Regions from separate parts of the Homo sapiens genome. Here region 1 is linked to region 2. Evidence: promoter capture Hi-C in human tissues and cell types (Jung and others, 2019). All regions are on one chromosome and are shown on one strand. The core of a region is centred on a gene start or on the middle of the fragment in contact, and the rest is flanking DNA. Distances in the headings are between cores, read along the strand shown. Region 1 overlaps ZNF462 (zinc finger protein 462). Region 2 holds the start of ZNF462 (zinc finger protein 462).

What was found. The method cuts DNA at HindIII sites, captures the fragments that hold promoters and counts their contacts. A contact is called where the count stands out against the background at its distance.
Region 1: a fragment that was not itself captured here is called in contact with the fragment with the promoter of ZNF462 in region 2 in 2 of the 25 tissues and cell types used here (dorsolateral prefrontal cortex and hippocampus).

What each region holds. Positions count from the first base shown.
Region 1 is chr9:106,936,066-106,939,405 of GRCh38, forward strand. It overlaps ZNF462 (zinc finger protein 462), which reads left to right. Exons shown (of 13, transcript NM_021224.6): 7 at 2,851-3,042. Among named protein-coding and RNA genes, the nearest start is that of ZNF462, 75 kb to the left of the region's middle. The HindIII fragment of the contact is 3,261 bases long and covers 118-3,340 here.
Region 2 is chr9:106,861,167-106,864,500 of GRCh38, forward strand. It overlaps ZNF462 (zinc finger protein 462), which reads left to right and starts at 2,000. Exons shown (of 13, transcript NM_021224.6): 1 at 2,000-2,189. The HindIII fragment of the contact is 13,314 bases long and covers 1-3,334 here.

The DNA of each region.
Region 1 (3,340 bases), core at 498-2,997, 75 kb after region 2:
ATATGTTTCCGTACATAAGACAGAAATGACTTTGGGTTGTGAGTGTCCAGCAGCTGTGCTGGTCTCTATCATATTGTTGTTCCATCTCATTACTCATTAGAAAAAATTGGAAATGAAAGAAGAAATACAGTCAGTCATCTATAATCTTATCTGAAGACCACTGTTGTTGACGTCTGATGTGTCATGACCCTTACCCACCAGGCTGTGCACTAGGCGTGTTATATGCATCATCTTCTTTAGTCCTATAATCGTCCTAAAGGGGAGGCATTGTGTCACATTCCTTGTGCCTTGTATAACCCTTGGTCACAGTTTGAACAGTGTTGTAAGAACTGCTCAGAACCTGGGTCCTTCACTTTCGCCAGCTCCTCATGCTCTGTGTAAACAGGACCATGTCTCTTCATTGTCTTCTGAGTGTTGGATTTTGTTGAACTGACTTAATGCAGTAAGATTACCCAGGTCTCCCAGTTGCCTCAAACTCCACTAGGAGTAAGGAATGGGACAGGGAAGTTAGCTATAGGGGCTTTTCTCTATCTTTTTGTATTTTTCTGTCTCTGGGAAATTTCTACTAAAGTCCTTGAAGTGAGTGGCTTCAGGGTTCAAATCACTGTTTTCTAACTTGTGTATATTGTAAATTATCCAGCTGGGACACTATCCTGGTGAGTTTTGCCCATAGGCCTTAGCCTTGTCAAAAGCACTTTTACCAGCGAGAGCTGGGAAGAGATGATTCGGCCTGTGGGAAAGACTTGAAGAGAGCATCAGAGCCTGCACACTGATGCCAGCGTATTAAGCTGAAGTGTCTGCTCTTGGAACTGACCCAAAAAACTGGCCTCCCTGTACTCACTGGCTGGCAGGAAGAGAGCATCCAGTAAGAGAGATTGGGAGCAGTGTAATTCAGTTCTTGACATACCTTGGAACCTTGGCCTCCATGACATTGCTTTGAGTGACTGAGTGGGGCTTGGCTTGGAAAAAGCCAGTACCTTTTCTGAAAGACTCTTGACTCATCTTGTCTTTTCTAGATAGATTATTTTATTTTATTTTAAAGAAGAAAAGGTAATGTGTGCTAACCCAAACATCTGGATTTGAATTCTCTCTCAGGTCGTGCAACTCACAGCCACCAGCAATATTCACACAACCAAGCTTGCATTAAAAGAAAAAAATGAAAAAATAGAATAAAGAGGGCAGTAGTATTCTATATATTGTCATATATATATTCATCCGTGGTGAGAGGAAGGCTTAATTACAGAACTTGGATGCTATACTCACTTCACATGTGAACCCATTTAGTAATTTTCATGGTGGCAGGAAAATAATAATCTCGGAAATGTAGGGACAAAGAATGATCTTCCAATACCTGTTTTTCTTACTTTTAATCCTTAGACCACACCTCTGTTCATTTTCACTGGTCCACAAAACTTTATGATTCTGTTTTCTCTTTTTTCTTCTCTGAGTTTTAAATGTCACCTTAAAAATTAATTTTAAAAATACATGTTCATTAGAGAAAGTTTGGAAATGAAAGAAGAAATACAGTCATTCATAATCTTGTTATCTAAACGCCACTGTTGTTAACATTTCATATATTTCCTTTCAGTCATTTTCTCTGTAATTATTTTTAATAGTTGTAATTCTAATGCAATTGAATATATATATTTAGCCTTTGTATTTACTTTTATTTTTATGTTATTATAAACTCCAAGAATTTATTTTAATTGAATAAAATAAATCATCAATAGGATATGCCCAGATTTACTTAATCTTTTCCTTATGGTTGTAAATTTAGGTTATTTCATACCTTTTTCAAGCATAAATGATGTATATTTCTAAGTAAAACTTTATATTTATTAAAGGATATCTTCTTATTACTCTTTGAAATGGAGTTACTGGGTTGGAAACATGAGCATTTCTAAGTCTATTGTTCTTAAAAGCAAAATGGCTTTCTGAATTGATCTTACCAGTGTATATATGTCCAACAATTTAAGCCTGCCCACTTCACACTCTTAGTTCTTAAAATGTAATTAATTTAACAGGTAATATATGGCGAAGGTAAATCACACTTTAACTTAATTTGGTCATGGTGATCTGTGTTGTATTTCAGTGGCATAAAATTAATTTTAAAAGTAGTGCTTATTTTTACTGAGAGGCAGTCTTTATTGAAGAATATTGGAGATAAACACACACACTGTACCCCCTAAACCCCCATGTTTACATATACAGCTCTCTTCCTTAGAGAAATGACTTATTTTTACCCATTTCTGTGCTATTGACTAGATAAGGAAATGGAGTTCTATGCTGAGGTTTATGAACTGGTCCAAAAATATATATATGTGGGATGAGAATGTGTATAGTTAGCAAGGAAGTACAGAATAGAATAGCACAACAGAGCTTGCACTGAATGACTTTGTGATTAAAAAGCCACTAATAGATCTTTGGAATAATAATTAAGCATGTTATTTTCTGGGACTGACAAAAAGGCCACCTTGAATGAAACCTGACATGGTCATTTCTAGTGTAGAGAGGGAGGGAAAGGGATTGGAAATTTTTCTAAAGGAGGTATCATGGGCAGTTGGGTTTGACTTCCTATTGGGGAATTAATTCATAGCTTCACTCCTGTAAGCAGAGCCCAAAATGAAAAAGGACCAGTTCACTAGATTCTGGAGCTCATGGAAGAGTTTCAACTCCAAAGGAGTACTGTGGTTGTGGCAGGTTGTTGGTCTGTGAGGTTCGTTCATAGAACATGAAGCTTGAGATGCGCTTCTCTAGCATGAGTTAACTGAGTTATCTTGTTTCCACCCTGGCCTTATACCCTTCTCCCCTCTTTTTCCTGTTCTATTTCTTGTCACCATCCTCTTCCAGGTGAGCATGCCTACAAGTGTTCTTGGTGCTCATTCTCCACCATGACAATCAGCCAGCTGAAGGAACACTCCCTCAAGGTCCACGGAAAAGCCCTGACCCTCCCCAGGCCACGGATCGTCAGTCTCCTCTCCTCACACTCCCACCACTCCTCCCAAAAAGCTACCCCGGCTGAAGAAGTGGAAGACTCCAATGGTAAAAATGGGCTTCCAAGCTGGAATTAACCACTCAGGGTTGAGGTGGGCTGGGATTCATTGCCAATCATTTTTTTTAGAGGAAAATCTTATGTGAAAACATGATGGTTCAAGTGAAGGAAGAAATATGAAAAAGTTGAAATGGTGTGGAAGTTGGAGTGGGAAGGGGAAATGAACTTGTTGAGCATCTGTGTGACGCCATGATGAAAATGGAATTCAGTGCTCATGGGAGTGTTGCTAGTGGAAAGAGCCTGTCAAGTGGGATGGATTAGTTTTGGATCGTTCCACTGTGGTTTCAA
Region 2 (3,334 bases), core at 750-3,249:
GGCAGGAAGTGTTGACTGGAAGTGGGTGAAATCGTGCCTCGGGGTGAGAGATTCTGCTCAGGAATATAGGGTCGGGAAAATCTTGGAAAATGAGGATTTAGATCTGTTTATGAAGCCCCGCTATCGGATGGGAACCAACTCCGCGCGCGTCTCCTCCTCTTCCTTTATTGTATGGATTTATAGGTATATATCTTCTCGGACTGTTGCTTGGGGGGAGGGAGGAGAAAGGGCGAGTATTTAAAGAGGACAGACTTGCCCAGGATCCTTAACACCGCGCCTTCACCGGATGCGCGCTCCTCAATGCAAAGGAATCCAGCAACATCCCCAATTCAGACGCGGACAAAAGAAACTTTAATTAAGGTCTCTTTCTGCCCCGCGCGCTGCGCGTTTCTCTCTCCTGAGGCTGTTGATGTCCAACTCCAAGATCCAAGAAATAGAAATGGTACAATCAGCCCATGCCCTTGAACTTCAATTGCTCCTGACTTGCTGCATTGATTTTTTTGATACTGTAGAACCCCCATCCCCAACCCCCACCGCTCCCAGTCCAATTAAAACCGTAGGAGACTTTCGACCTGGTGGTGGAGGGGGGGAACCACTCCTTTGCAAAAGAGATAGTTCAGAATGATACGGGAGAGATTACACTAAATAAAAATTCAAGGTGTGAAAGCTTCATCTTGGCTCGCGTGTCTTCAACACCATGACACCTTATCATTAAGAGCGCTGATTGTTACTTTCCGAGCCTTTAGATGATCAGCCAGAAAGTGCAAACAACGCGGGGCTGGAGGGTGTAAAGTTATTTAAGCAGGCGTTCTTTTTTTCTTTTGGTGCGCAGTCAAAACATTTCACAAGTTAGGAAAAGAAAGTGGTGGTTCCGAAGCTCGGAATGATGGGCTCTTTTCCTCCTCCACCCCCCCACCTTCCATATCAGGAAAGAAATAAAACGCACAATGAGCCTTTATTTCAGGAGAGAAGACTTCAAAATACGTGCCAGTAATGGACAATTTGAGCTTTTCACTGGAAATACTCACACCGCAAGCTGGAAAGGGATTAAAAAGCCCCACGTGGTTGATCTGGGTTTATACTTGCAACCTCCAGTTCCCCACGTATGTTCTTTGCAAAGGTTGGCCTCTAGATGGATGCAAGTAAGGGACCCTCTGGGGCTCGGGCTCGGCGCCTCGGGCAGGGCTGACGTTGGGAGCGCTATGAGCTGCCGGGCAGGGTCCTCACCGGGGGCTTCCTCTGCGGGCCAGGGCTGCCGGGCGCCACCGGGACGCGAGCGCGCACGCCTCGGCCCGGCGGCCGCGCTCCTCGCACCGCCTTCTCCGCAGGTCTTTATTCATCATCTCATCTCCCTCTTCCCCTTCTCCTTCTCCTTTGCCTCCTTCTCCTTTGCCTCCTTCTCCTCCTCTTCCTCCCCCTCCTCCACCACCACCTCCTCCTCCTCTGCCGCCGCCACCTCCTCCTCTTGCATCTCACTGGCCTGGCTCTGAGTGACAAAGACAATGTCCCAGCCTTAACTTTGCAACCACCTTGCCTCCTTCTGGGGTTCAGCAGGGGGGAGGGGGAACAGCAGCAGCAGCCTCAGCATCTCCTCCAGCTTCTCCTTCTGCTCTTCTCGAGCTCTTGGATAATTCTTCCTCTTTTTTCCCCTAGCCTTTTTCCTCATTTCTTTCTTTCTTTCTTTTTTTCCTTCCTCTCTGCTGCACGTTGTTGTTGTTATTAGAAAGGCTTCGCGCACCCCCTGGTGCTCCGGCGTTTTGTGTGGCAGGAGAAGATTGTCTTCCTTCTCTCTTTCTGTCTTGCTTTCTCTCTCCCCCTGGTTGCTCATTATTCAGAGAGAGACACAGAGGGAGGGAGAGAGAGAGAGCGCGCGAGGGAGAGGGAGGAGAGGAGAGAGAAGAGGAGAGAGAGGGGAGAGAGAGAGTGAGAGGGAGAGGGAGGGAGGGAGAGAGAGAGAGAGGGAGAGAGACGGATATCTCAGGTCATCTGCAGCTGCAGCGAGTCTGAGGAGCCGAGGAAGGCAGGGAAGATGGCGATCCTCCATTGCTGAGACCCGGCAGAAGCACATGAGACTCCCAAACAACTTCCACAACAATAACCCGAGCAGGAAGAGGAGAAAGAGAAAGAGGATAAGGAGGCGGTGGGGCTGGAGAACCCGAAGCACCTCCCGGCGCCGGGACGCTTCTTCTGTAAGTTACTGCAATTAACAACCACCTCGGGGTGGTCCGAGTGCTCCGGGGAAGAGAGCGCGGGGTGGTGGAGGCACAAACGCGCTCATTCATTCGGCCAAGGAGGGTTGGAGGAGCGGGGAGGAGAGGAAGTCCCCTGCATGGACTGGCTGTTGGAAGAGGAGAAGAAGCGAGAGAGAAGAGGAGGAGGGGGAGGAGGGAGAGCAGGAGGGGGAGGAGGAAGAGGAGGAGGAGAAGCGAGGGAGGAAGAGGAGGAGGAGGAAGAGGAGGAGAAGGTGGTAGTGGTGGCAGTGGAGGTGGCTGTGCTTTTCCTGCTGGCTGCTGCTCCTGCTGGGGGGAGTGAGCGCGGTGGCTTAATTAATTTCGTGTAGTTCTATGAAGAGAAGAGAAAATGAAAGATGAGTGAGAAGAGAGCTGGAGGCTTAGGACGGATGCTCCGAGTGTGGGGACAGGAGTAGGGACAGAGGGGGGCGGAGGGCGGGAGGCCGGAGACCTGAGCCGAGAGCCAGAGGGAGCGAGCGAGGGTCAGAGGAGGGAGAGCTCCGTGCGAGCGGCCCCGACCTGAGCGGGTTGACCTCTTTCTTTCTCTGTCCCTCTCCTTCCTTTCCCCCTTCTGTCTGCCTGTCCCCCGCCCGATGGCAAAGCCGTGCGGATTGGCAGCCCCCCTCTTCCTCAGGTATTTGGCTCTCTCTCTCTCTCTCTCTCTCTCTCTCTCTCTCTCTCTCTCTCTCTCTCTCTCTCTCTCTCTCTCTCTCCCTCTCCCCGAAGTTGGGATGCGGGGTCGGGATGTGTCGGGGGGTGGCTGCTGCAGCTGCTGGTGCCGGTGCTGCTGGTGAACAGAGAGGCGAGGAGCGGGGGGCACCGGCCGGGTGGGGGGCGCAGGTTCAGGAGCGGCTGAGGAGCTGTCTCCAGGCTGGAGGTTCAGAAGCGTCTGGTGGAGGAGGACAACGGTTTCTGGAGAGGAGAAGCCATTACACACGCTTGGCTCTCCTCTGAGGAAGGGAGAAAGGAAGGCAGGGGCCTGGGGGGGCGTCTCACTCCTGGTGCAGTTCCCAGGGGTCTGCCCTCCTTCCAGGCACGAGGGGAAGCCGCAGCCGCCCCCCATTGGAGCAGCCCCTCTTTCCCTTTCTTTATCTCCCTGTCCT